2 separate regions of the Homo sapiens genome follow, and region 2 is linked to region 1. Evidence: promoter capture Hi-C in 16 types of primary human blood cells and fetal thymus (Javierre and others, 2016). All regions are on one chromosome and are shown on one strand. The core of a region is centred on a gene start or on the middle of the fragment in contact, and the rest is flanking DNA. Distances in the headings are between cores, read along the strand shown.

Evidence for each region. Contacts are between HindIII fragments. The CHiCAGO score rates a contact against its expected background, and 5 or more counts as called.
Region 2: a contact is called between a fragment that was not itself captured here and the fragment with the promoter of DCAF4L1 in region 1, in 1 of 17 cell types (total B cells). The highest score is 5.6, in total B cells.

Annotation. Positions count from the first base shown.
Region 1 is chr4:41,978,183-41,984,368 of GRCh38, reverse strand. DCAF4L1 (DDB1 and CUL4 associated factor 4 like 1) reads right to left here and starts at 2,613. Exons shown (of 1, transcript NM_001029955.4): 1 at 1-2,613. The coding sequence starts at 2,576. The coding sequence ends at 1,386. RefSeq lists enhancers at 1,351-2,123, 1,683-2,882. The HindIII fragment of the contact is 3,961 bases long and covers 224-4,184 here.
Region 2 is chr4:42,523,833-42,529,808 of GRCh38, reverse strand. It overlaps ATP8A1 (ATPase phospholipid transporting 8A1), which reads left to right. Exons shown (of 37, transcript NM_006095.2): 21 at 4,962-5,046. Among named protein-coding and RNA genes, the nearest start is that of SHISA3, 130 kb to the right of the region's middle. The HindIII fragment of the contact is 7,276 bases long and covers 1-5,600 here.

The DNA.
Region 1 (6,186 bases), core at 1,364-3,863:
ATGATCTTCCAATGCAATCATTTCTGATCATTTCTACTTCTCACACATGCAGGTCCAAGGCATCATTGTCCCTTGCCTAACTACAATAGTGTCCTAATTGCTTATTTTTATTTTTTGAGGAATAACATATATACAGTAAACTATAAAAACGTGAAGCATATAGATATATGAATTACGTATGTATCAAGTGTCAAGATAAAGAAAACTCAGCATTCCTAAAGCTTCCCCATGTCACTTCTCAAACATCCTAAAAAGAAAAAGAAAAAAAAATCCTTTCTTTCTACAGAGGTACGTACTACTCTACCTTTAATCACCATAGACAAGTTTTTACTGCTTTTGAACTTTAGAATTGAATCATACAGTTTGTACTCATTTCTACCTAATTTCAGTCAACATGTTGAGATTGGTCCATACTGTTTCACATAGCAAGTGTGCCTTATTTTCTATTATTATGCAGTATCCGATTGTATGATTATATCACGAATTTTAGCATTTTCGAAATTCAGATCATTTCCAGGCTTTGGCTATTAAGAAGTAGCAACTAACCTTATTACACGTTTTTTTTCTTCCTTGCTTAGTAGAAAAACAGGCTCTTTAACATTTTTAATAAATCTCTCACAAACTGCTGCTCCTAGATTACAAAAAGTCAAAGCCAATTCCTTGAATCTGAACTTCAAGTCACCATAATAGAAACCGGAGCTGCTGTACCTTACATTCTGAAAGGTACCTCAACAAAAGCACATCAAGGACTGTTTAAAACTTCTAGTATTTAAAAAGATCCATCTTTCCTTCCAATGCCTATGGATGATAACAATAAAAGGAGAACCTTAAGAGATCTGCTATTGAGTTTGAGAAGGCCAAATTTAATGATTCCAAACTCCAGCCTTAAATATTTCTGTAGAGACTCTGAGAAATTACCTCTCCCTTGTCTCCACTCCCACTGGCTTCCTCAAGCGCAGATGCCTGGGACCCTGTATGATTAGTCAAACAGTCTTACCAGTACCATCATTATGCTTCTCTAAAGGGCTACTAGTGAAAGAAGCTGCTTTAATTTATTTTAGTTTTTGCCAATCTTCAGTCCTTAGAAAAGTCTTAATTATTTAAAAAAAAAAAGGGTTGGGGAGGTGGTTAACTGTTCTAAGGCATTCAACAAGAGGAAACAGGTACCTTTTATGAAAAGGACTTTCAAGTTAAGTCCACAGTTTAACTGAAATAACTTTACAAGAACGTCTCCACATAAAACTCTTAACACCTTACCCCTGGCAGCCGGATGGATGCGATCTATATACAACACGTCTCTTAAAATGCTCTCACAGAAACGGTAATAAGATACTCTTAACTTCCTTAAGTCAAATCCACATTCGGCCGCGCTGCCACCTGCAGAATTAGCTGAAGGGGAAACAATAAAGGTCCTGCCGGACAGCCATGAGCAGCCCTGGTGCTGCTCCCCGGATGCCCCCGAGCCGAGAAGCGAAGGCCACGCTGGGAATGTCGTCCTCGGAGGCAGAGTACGGGGAAGGGATGGTTCTGAGCAGGTGGGCATCATGGAGGCTCCAGATTCTCGTGTAGCAGTCCTGGCCCACTGCCACCACGATTCCCTCTTCCTCGTGCACATGCAGGGGCAGATAGGCGGACTCATTCACGTGACCTTCGTACTGCCTTACACATTTAGTGGCCCTCAGATCCCACAGCTTGATCTTTCCAGTCATGTCTGATGCCATCAGGCATTGCTCTTCTTGGAGGATTTGCACAGAGGTCACTGCTGAGTCATGGAACAGGCGAGTGGCCCTCCACCCCTTGCCTCGATTTCTACAACGCAGATCAATGGCAAAGATCTCCCCGGAGCGACAGCCATTAAACAGCAAAGGAGCCGTACTAGCAAACTGCTGGGCCAAGACATCACTGCTGGTATCAAATGACTGCTGGTGTCCCGTCGCCACGCTGGTCAACAGGACCTGCTGAGACAAGCCTGCACTAAAGCAGTGATATGCCCGGGTGTTGAGGGACCACGCACAGGACCAGGCCTCTGGGATCTGGAAACTGCAGAGCATGCCAGGCTGGTTAACTCTTGTGTGAACACTTAAGAACCGCGACGCTGGGAGCAGCACTGCACAGCTTGGAGCATCTGTGATTCCCTCGAAGCACAGCAGAACGTGAGAGTCCAACTGGTTCAGCGAGGCCCAGCACAGGGACTTCACCTTCCGGTTGGGGACGTAGAGGTTTCTGAGCACGTACACGTGGAACGAAGGGATCTTCAGAGTTCGCAGGCTGATGATGCCGTACTTGGAGCCTTCGACTTCGACCTGGTTCACTACGAAGAGCTGGTCGCTGTTGGTACTCGCCAGAATGAAGTTAAATCGGTCGCTCGCCAAAGAGGAGGGATCCAAGCTCCGAATTTGGACCTTTTTCCGCTCCATGCAGCTCACACGCAGCTCGTTGGCTAAACGGGAGTAACTGGTGACGTTGAGGAAACCTAGCTGGCTTTTTCGGAGCATGGAAGATGCATTAAATCCCATTCTGGCTACCTTTTTCAGCTTGGCCTCTTCCTCGAGGAGTCGCAGCCTTTCAGCCTCCATTTCCTCCTGCGGAATGTTCCTCGTGACAGGAAATTCTGCAGGATGTTCTTCTCCGTGACAGGATGTTCTTTTCCGTGACAGGAAGTTCCGTCCGGGTGCAAGCGGAAGTGTTGCTACTTTTTATCCTCTCTATTCTAGGAGGAAGTCCATTGTTACAGATGTGTATTACAAATCTCTTTTCCTACTCTGTGGGTTGTCGTATTCTCTCAGTGGTGTCTTGATGAAAGGAAGTTCTTGATGTTAAATTTTTTCCTTTCTCTTTTTGAGACAGGGTCTTGCTCTTTCACCCAGGCTGGAGTCCAGTGGCACGACCACGGCTCACTGCAGCCTGGAACTCCTGGGCTCAAGTGATTCTCCTACCTCTGCCCTACTTAGCTGGGACTATGGGCTCACAACACCATGCCAGGCTACTTTTTTTGTAAAGATGGGGTCTCCCTGCTTTGCCGATGCTAGTCTGGAACTCTTGAGCTCAAGCAGCCTGTCCGCCTCAGCCTCCCAAAGTGCTGGGATTACAAGCATGAGCCCACGCGCCCTGCCTGTATTTCTTATTTTTTTATTTTTTATTTTAAGACGGAGTCTCGCTCTGTCGGCCAGGCTGGAGTACAGTGGCGCGATCTCGGTTCACTGCAAGCTCTGCCTCCCACGTTCACGCCATTCTCCTGCCTCAGCCTCCCAAGTGGCTGGGACTACAGGCGCCCGCCACCACGCCTGGCTAATTTTTTTTGTATTTTTAGTAGAGACAGGGTTTCACCGTGTTAGCCAGATGGTCTCGATCTGCTGACCTCATGATCGGCCCGCCTCAGCCTCCTAAAGTTCCGGGATTACAAGCGTGAGCCACTGCGCCCGGCCGCCTGTATTTTTAAAATACAGTTAGAGACCAGCCTGGGCGGCATGGTGAAACTTTGTCTCTAAAAAAATACAAAGATTAGGCCGGGCGCAGTGGCTCACGCCTGTAATCCCAGCACTTTGGGAGGCGCAGGCAGGCGGATCACGAGGTCAAGAGATTGAGACCATCCCGGCTAACACGGTGAAACCCCGTCTCTACCAACAATTAAAAAAATTAGCCGGGCATCGTGGCGGGCGCCTGTAGACCCAGCTACTCTGGAGGCTGAGGCAAGAGAATGGCGTGAACCCGGGAGGCGGAGCTTGCAGTGAGCCGAGATCGCGCCACTGCATTCTAGCCTGGGCAACAGAGCAAGACTCTGTCTCAAAAAATAAATAAATAAATAAAATACAAAAATTAGCGGGGTATGGTGCACACCTGTAGACCCAGCTACTCAGGAGACTGGGAGGGAAAATCACTTGAGCCTAGGAGTCTTGGAGGGAAAATCACCTGAGCCCTGAAAGTTGAGGCTGCAGTGATCACCCCACTGCACTCCAGCCCAGCTGGGAGACAGAATAAGACCCTGTCTCAAAAAGAAAGAAAAATAAGTAAATAAATTATGAATTTATCCAAATTGTCCATTTGTTTCATTAATGGTTAGTGTCTTTCATGTTCTGTTCAGGACATTAGTACCTATTACATGATACTAGTAAAGTTTTGGGGTGTCTTCAAGAGGAGGCTGATATCTCCAGTCCCCATCTGGATGTTTCCTTTGCCACAAAGCTTGCTGACTCCCCTTACGCTATGAATTTCCAGGAATTTTGGAGGACTGGGGAGAGTTGGTAGGGACTACAGAGAAATCCGGTGATATCTGGACTATGGATCCTGTCGGAATCTACAGGCCCCAGAGCTGGGATCACAGAGAGCACAGGAGATTGAGGCCCACACACTTGCCATGGAACATAACATGGGACAAGGGATTTCTATGTATCAGAAGAATGTGTTTCACCACTGCCAAATGGAAGTCAGCTGACAGATGCAGAAGTCTTGCAAAGGGCTATCAAAGCATAGAGGACTGCTTGATACTGAGTTATCAGTGGGGCTGTTAGGAACCCCATATATTCTAACAATGACCTACAGAAAGCAGATAGCAACATGGCGGCAGTCAGACATTTAAGGCATTGCCTGTTTTCCTTCTTAAACCTCCTGACCCCACCATCGGAAGAGCAGGCACATGGAAAAAAAGGGGTGTGTATAAAGAAAGTTGGAACTACGGGTCTAGTCTGCTCTGGAAGGCATGGAGGAAGTTTTTGAAATAAATATGAGACTAATATTTTAAATCAGTAGGACCTAATCTTAATACCTAGAATGAAAGTTTTAATAACTAAGGAGGCTGATACTTTGAAGCAATGAAATCTGACAAAATACCAAGTGTAGAAATGATGAGACTTTCAAGCTTATGCCTCTTGAGGTGAGATTCTCAATCAAACTGATTACACATCTTTGTCTACCCTAGTATACTGTGGACATCTTTAGACAGGGATTGTTTCTTATCCATCTTTCTATCCTTACTGTCTAGTGTATAATATAGTACATGGGACATAGGATATAGATAAGTGAATGAAGGAATGAAAATTATAAGAACTACATGTTTAATTCTCCTTTATTTCATAGGCTCCTTCACTGAGAGGAATAAGGGATTAAGGTTATTTCTGCAAAATCTATCCAACTTCTACTCTACAGGGAGAGCTTTCAATCTATTTCCACTTCTTTTTTTCAATTTTTAATTCCCGTGGATATATAGTAGGTGTATATATTTATGGGGTACACGAGATGTTTTGATACAGGCATGTAATGTGAAATAAGCACATCAGGGTAAATGGGGTATCCATTCCCTTAACCATTTATCCTTTGAGTTACAAACAATCCAATTACACTCTTTAAGTTATTTTAAAACATACAATTAAGTTACTATTGACCATGATCACCCCGTTGTGCTATCAAATAGTAGGTCCTATTCGTTTTTTGTGTTTTGTGTTTTTTTTTGTGTGTGTGTGTGTCTTGCTCTGTTGCTCAGGCTGGAGTGCAGTCGTGCGATCTCGGCTCATTGTAACCTCTGCTTCCTGGGTTCAAGTGATTCTCCTGCCTCAGCCTCCCGAGTAGCTGGGACTACAGGCTCCCGCTACCATGCCAGGCTAATTTTTGTATTTTTAATAGAGATGGGGTTTCACCATATTGGACACACTGGTCTCGAACTCCTGACCTTGTGATCCGCCTGCCTCGGCCTCCCAAAGTGCTGGGATTACAGGCATGAGCCACCACGCCTGGCCAGTCCTATTCATTATTTAACTTTTTTTTTTTTTTAACTCATTTACCATCCCCACCTCCCCCTTCTTTTCTGATTAACTAACTTTCCTTCCCTCTCAATAAACATATAAATCAACCTTCTAGAAAAAATAAGTCTCCTTAAATGCTACATGACTTTTTATCTACTGTCTTAAAAAATTATTTCAGCCTTTAGGATTCTTTCCTTCTCTTTTAGGAATTTACATACTCCATTCCCACCATGCCACTCCATTTCCTTCATCCACCATCTCTTCCCATTTCTCCATAGAAGAAATTGGAAACGTTCCCCATAACTCTCACAACTCTGCCCCTCAGGTCTTACCCCAGCTCAAGGTCCCATACTCACCCTGCCCAACCACATCGTGTGACCTTTGCAGCAGTGGTTCTCATCCTGGGACAACTGTTGGCAATATCTGGAGACATTTTTAGCTGTCACAACTG
Region 2 (5,976 bases), core at 713-3,212, 550 kb before region 1:
AGTGCTGCCCACCGGGAAGATTTCACCTCACCACTGTCCCTCAGGGATGTCCTAGAAAGGGGCTGTCGTGCTTCAGCTGTCTACTTTCGGGTAGTGCCTGCATATCGTGCAGAACCATCTGTGAACCAGGCCCTAGTCTTCTCTTCCTCTGTCAACTGGATCATAGGGAACTCCCCATGAGGCCATCGGTGCAGGCTGGGGAAGAGAAGGCACAGTGGTAGGAGTGGAGACCATGGGCATTTGAGGCACTTCCTCACATAACTTACTTGTGCCTTCAGGACCTGCTCAAGCCTGATCACGTATATACCACTTCAATTTGATGATGCAGTGCTGCTGGTGCATGACCCACTTGATGGCTAGATGGGTCAGAAAGTACCCAGTTCATGATACGCAGTTCAGGTCGCATCGTGACTTGATGACCCATGGTCAAATGTTCAGTTTCCACCAAAGCCCAGTAACAAGCCAAGAGCTGTCTCTCAAAAGGAGAGTAGTTACCTGCAGATTATGGCAGGGCCTTGCTCCAAAATCCTAGATGCCTCCACTGTGATTCACCTATGGGGGCCTGCCAAAGGCTCCAAACAGCATCCCCGTCTGCCACTGACACCTCAAATACCATTGAATCTGCTAGGTCATATGGACCAAGTGGCAGAGCAGCTTGTACAGCAGCCTGGACCTGTGTCCGTTCTGGACCCCACTCAAAACTGGGGTCCAGTGGCCTTTAGGGTCACTTGATAAATGGGCCAGAGTAACACACCTAGATAAGGAATGTGATGCCTCCAAAATCCACATAAGCCCACTAGGCATTGTGCCTCTCATTGTAGGAGGGGCCAAATGCAACAACTTATCCTTCACCTTAGAAGGAATATCTCAACAGCCCCCACACCACTGGACCCCTAGAAATTTTACTGGGGTAGAAGGTCCCTTAATTTTAGTCAGGTTTATTTCCCATCCTCTGGCACACAAATATCTCACCAATAAGTCCAGTGTGTTTGCTACTTCTTGCTCACTGGATCCAATCAGCATAATGTCATCAGTGTGATGGACCAGTGTGATATCTTGTGGAAGTGAAAAGCAATCAAGGTCTCACTGAATAAGATCATGACACAAAGCAGGAGAGTTGATATGCCCCTGGGGTAGGACAGTAAAGGTATGTTGAAGGCAAATTGCTTGGTGGGCCTTATAGGCAGGAGTGGAGAAAAAGGAATTTGCCAAGTCGGTGGTTGCATACCAGATACCAGGAGATGTGTTAATATGCTCAAGCAATGAAACCACATCTGGTACAGCAGCTACAATTGGAGTCACCACTTGGTTAAACTTCTGATAATCCACTGTCATTCCCCAAGATCCATGTGTCTTCTGCACAGGCCAGATGGGAGAGTTGAATGGGGATGTGGTGGGAATCACCACCCCTGCGTCTTTCAAGTCCTTGATGGTGGCACTAATCTCTGTAATCCCTCCAGGGATGTGATATTGTTTTTGATTTACTATTTTTCTAGGGAGAGGCAGCTCTCATGGCTTCCATTTGGCCTTTCCCACCGTAATAGCCCTCACCCTACCAGTCAGGGAGCCAATGTGGGGATCCTGCCAGTTGCTAAGTATGTCTATGCCAATTATGCATTCTGGCATCAGGGAAATGACCACAGGATGAGCCCGGAGACCCACTGGACCCACTGCAAGTCAGACCTGAGCTAAAACTCCATTAATTACCTGACCACCATAAACCCCTATTTTAACTGGAGGACCACAATGACATTTTGGGTCCCCTGGAATCATCACCAGCTCAGAGCCAGTGTCCAGTAGTCCCCAAAATGTCTGATCATTTCCCTTTCCCCAGTGCAAAGTTACCCTGGTAAAAGGCCAGAGGTCTCTCTGGGGAAGGATGGGAGAAGGATTAACAGCATAAATTGTCGGTTATGTAGTGGAGTCCTTCCTCTAGGGTACCCAGCCTCCCCTTCATTCAAGGGGTTCTGGGTCTATAAACTGGCTCAAGTTTGGAAATTGATTGAGGGACTGTGATTCTCTGTTTTTGTAACTCAAAATTAGTCTTTTATCCATTCGACCTAGAAGTTTTCTGCTTATATAAATTTGAAAACTCAGGCAATTCCTTTTGAGTGTAGTGCATCTCCTCATGAGTCACACTCTCATCCTCACGTCTAGGGACTCGCTGGGACTTTAGTCTAGTTATAGGTCTAGAAGCAAACAGGGGTGTTGGGGGTGGGTCCAGAAGAGAATCAACATCATCTTGCCTGGCAACTGCTTCAGGGGAGGCCATCGTTGTTACCTCAGGCAGCACAGGCTTTATCTCCTCAGACAAAAGTGGAAAGGCTGATGGCAACATGGTTCAGAGAGGGGAAGTTGCCCCTACTGGGGATGGGGAAGCTGTTACTTCTGGCAAAAAAGGTTCATCAGAGTTTACAAACTCAGTGTCCCCAGCTTCATCAGGGTCCTCCCACACGTCCCCATTCCAAGTTGCGGGGTCCCATTCTTTTCCAATCAATGTCCTCCCTTTAACAGTAGACACCTGTTGAGGCTACGCATGCACCTTTCCTTGCGGGTCAGCCATTCGCATGATAACAGCTTGTGTCTGTTTTTCCACAATTTCAGCTCTTTCCCTGCAGGAGATAAGACTCTCACTCAGGGCAGTCTTAGCAGATTTGAGACTCAGTATCTGCTTCTGAAGCCAGGAGATAGAATCCCTGAGTTCATCATTTTCTTTCATTACTTTGTCCACTGAACTTAGGAGCAACCAACCAGCTTCATTATGTTCCTTGGTTCTCCACATATGGCCAAAGGTATTATGTATAGAGTCACTAAACTCATTGTCTGTCATGAAAGAAGAATCAGGAATGTCAAATGCATTTATTTTACATAACTCTCCAGTTTATGCCAAGGACTATCAGTGTTCTCCATACTACAGGTAGAGTCCTTAGCATTTTGGGGTCTAATCATATTAAGCAGCCACCTCCAGAAACCCCAAAACCAATGAAAGAACTCCATCTTAATATTCTGTTCCTCTAGAGCCACTCTTGGTACCAAAATCTGTATTAGTCAGGGTTCTCTAGAGGGACAGAATTAATAGAATAAATACATATATATAAAGGGGAGTTTCTTAAGCATTAACTCACACAATCACAAGGTCCCACAATAGGCCATGGGACCTGCAGGCTGAGGAGCAAGGAGAGCCAGTCTGAGTTCCAAAACTGAAGAACTTGGAGTCCGATGTTCAAGGACAGGAAGCATCCAGCACGGGAGAGGCTAGGCCAGTCTTGCCATTTCACATTTTTCTACCTGCTTTATATTCGCAGGCAGCTGACTAGATTGTGCCCACCCAGATTAAGGGTGGGTCTGCCTTCCCCAGCCCACTGACTCAAATGTTAATCTCCTTTGGTAACACCCTCACAGACACACCCAGGATCAATACTTTGTATCCTTCAATCCAATCAAGTTGACACTCAGTATTAACCTTCACAATGTTTATTCATTTTTCATGTGTAGGCATGGCTAGCCGACCCATTTTCATTTTAAAAACATACTATACATGTAATGCAGAAGGCCACATCTTTCTTCTGCTTTTTCTCAACACTATAAAGAAGGTAGAAAATTAATTTTTCTCATTCTAAACGTCAGTGTCTTCCGCTAGAATGTTTGGATACAGTACCGAATTTAATCCTTTTAGCTATATTACTTATCACTTTTGTTTTCATGATTTTAATGTTTTCAAATATTTTCTTAGTTTTAGAATGGAATGTATTAATATCATTGAAAATATTATTTTCAAATTTAATTCTTCTTAAAAGAAGAATTTACAAATGATTCTTCTCATTCTCAGGAAGGAGCCATGAGGGGAAACTATCATTTCCTTTCGCTTTGCCCCCCACTTCCCATTCCATCACTGAAAAATGAAAAGAAATTCAGAATTGCGGCTTGGAATACTCCATCTGTTCTGAGGTCACTAAGTTGTGTTTCTCTCAAGGGTTCTAAATCATACTCCATTAGTCTGCTTCCAAATATCAGCCCTGAGACTGGAGACCCCAAAATGGGTAATACCACTGAGAAAGTAATTGCAGATAAGTGATTTATTTTTTCCTGGTCTAATAAAACCGTGAAGGTTGAACACTAAAATTCTTAAAGCACTAAACCAAAGCTGCATAATAACTAAATGAATAGTAGGCAGTTTATAAAAGAGCAAGAACTAGAGAAGCATAAGTGATGCATGAAGTTAAAGCTGAAAAGGACTTTAAACATAATCTGGTAACAAAATTTTACAGATTAAGTAAACTGAGTCTTAAAGCTAAAGTGACACAATCAGAAATATTCAGCTATTTAAGGCATTTCGAGAGTTGTTCGAGGTTCTCCCACAATACCCACTGGCCCTCTCAGTGGATTTAGTCCTGTATTAAAGTTTGTTCTTCTGTGAGCACTGGTCCCATAAACATGCTCTAAACCCTAAAAAGTTCTGTGATTCAACGAGTTTGGGGCACATAGCATGTAGCCCCTTCGAGATCCACTGTGCACACTGGCATTTTAAAGTCCCCGAGGATTATTCCAGCAAGACAAGCTCTGTTGCTTTGCTCAGTCCAGTGTTTGCCAAACTTACTTGAGTTCTGGACCGTTCTTCCTTGCAGCACCTATGAATACCTATGAAGGTGTTCTGGAAAACCTTCTGGGTTAGGGTAGATCTTGCAGCATGTGGAAGGTAAGTGAGGTAGAATATGAGATATGAACATGGGAATAACTACAGTTTTATTCAGAAAGAGGAAAGATGAAGATGCAAGACTAGAGACTTATTAATGTCACTAGCAAAATAGTATTATTAGACAAAAATATCTTGTTCTTTAAAACGAATGCCAAAAGAGATTGGTGGTTGTTACACTGATTTCCTACTGCTATTGTTACCAACATCAACTTTATTAAACCCAGAATGCTTAATTAAATCATTTTACCCTCTGTTTGTTTTCCAGGACACTGTAATTTATGATCGACTGGCAGAGACGTCAAAATACAAAGAAATTACCCTAAAACATTTAGAGCAGTTTGCTACAGAAGGTAAGTGTAATTTGGCAATAAAGCATGATTAAAATACAAAGAAATCATATACTTCTGATACCTTGCAGGATCCTTATTATTATTAGACTTAGAGATTCCTAAAGTAAGATATCAGCTGTTGGCAATTTAGATTTTACTATATGCTGTTCCCAGCCTGTGTTTTTATTTTACTTTCCTAAAACTATATTTATTAAAATTTTGAGCAACTTTGTCCCCACGTTTTAGATGGTAGGGCCTATAAATGTTTTACTTTTAGAGTGGATCATATTTACCATTTAGATACTTCACTTTGTATCTCGAGCAATTCATTAGGAAAAGAAGCAAGACTCAAAAAAAAAAAACAGATATTCTAATCTGAATAAGAAAGAAGAAATAAACCTAAACTGTTAAAATAGCTATTAAATTTAGTTTCAACTCAGGACTTTCTATTAAAAACTTACGTAACTATTAAAATTGTTATTCAATTTATTACAACTCAAGACTTTTTTAGAGAGCCCCTACCACACGCCAGGCTCTGTGTGAGGCCTGAGAATCCAAAATAGGATAAACAAGCTTTGCTCTGTCTCTCTGTCCTCCTGAAATATATTATGTGCAAGGCAAAGCAGTACATAGTCTAGAGAGAGGATCTAGGTTAGATGAAAGGCAGCGAGGGTTGTTAAACATGAGAGTCAGTTACTACAAGAATTTGTAGTCTTATCTCGTACTTAACAATGGTAGTTATAGCTGAATCTAAATCTCCAGTCTCAGTTTTCACTCCTATCTGTTTCAGCTGGAACTGTTGCCAGTGGCACCAAACTGACCTAATCAAATACTTTTTCCCGTTAATTCAGGCAGAGAAAAGATAGGAATGTTTTTTAAAACACTAGGCAAAAACAAAAGCCAAAACAAAAAAAAAGATGGCTTTTGAAAAACCTCTGTGCAGTTCTTCAA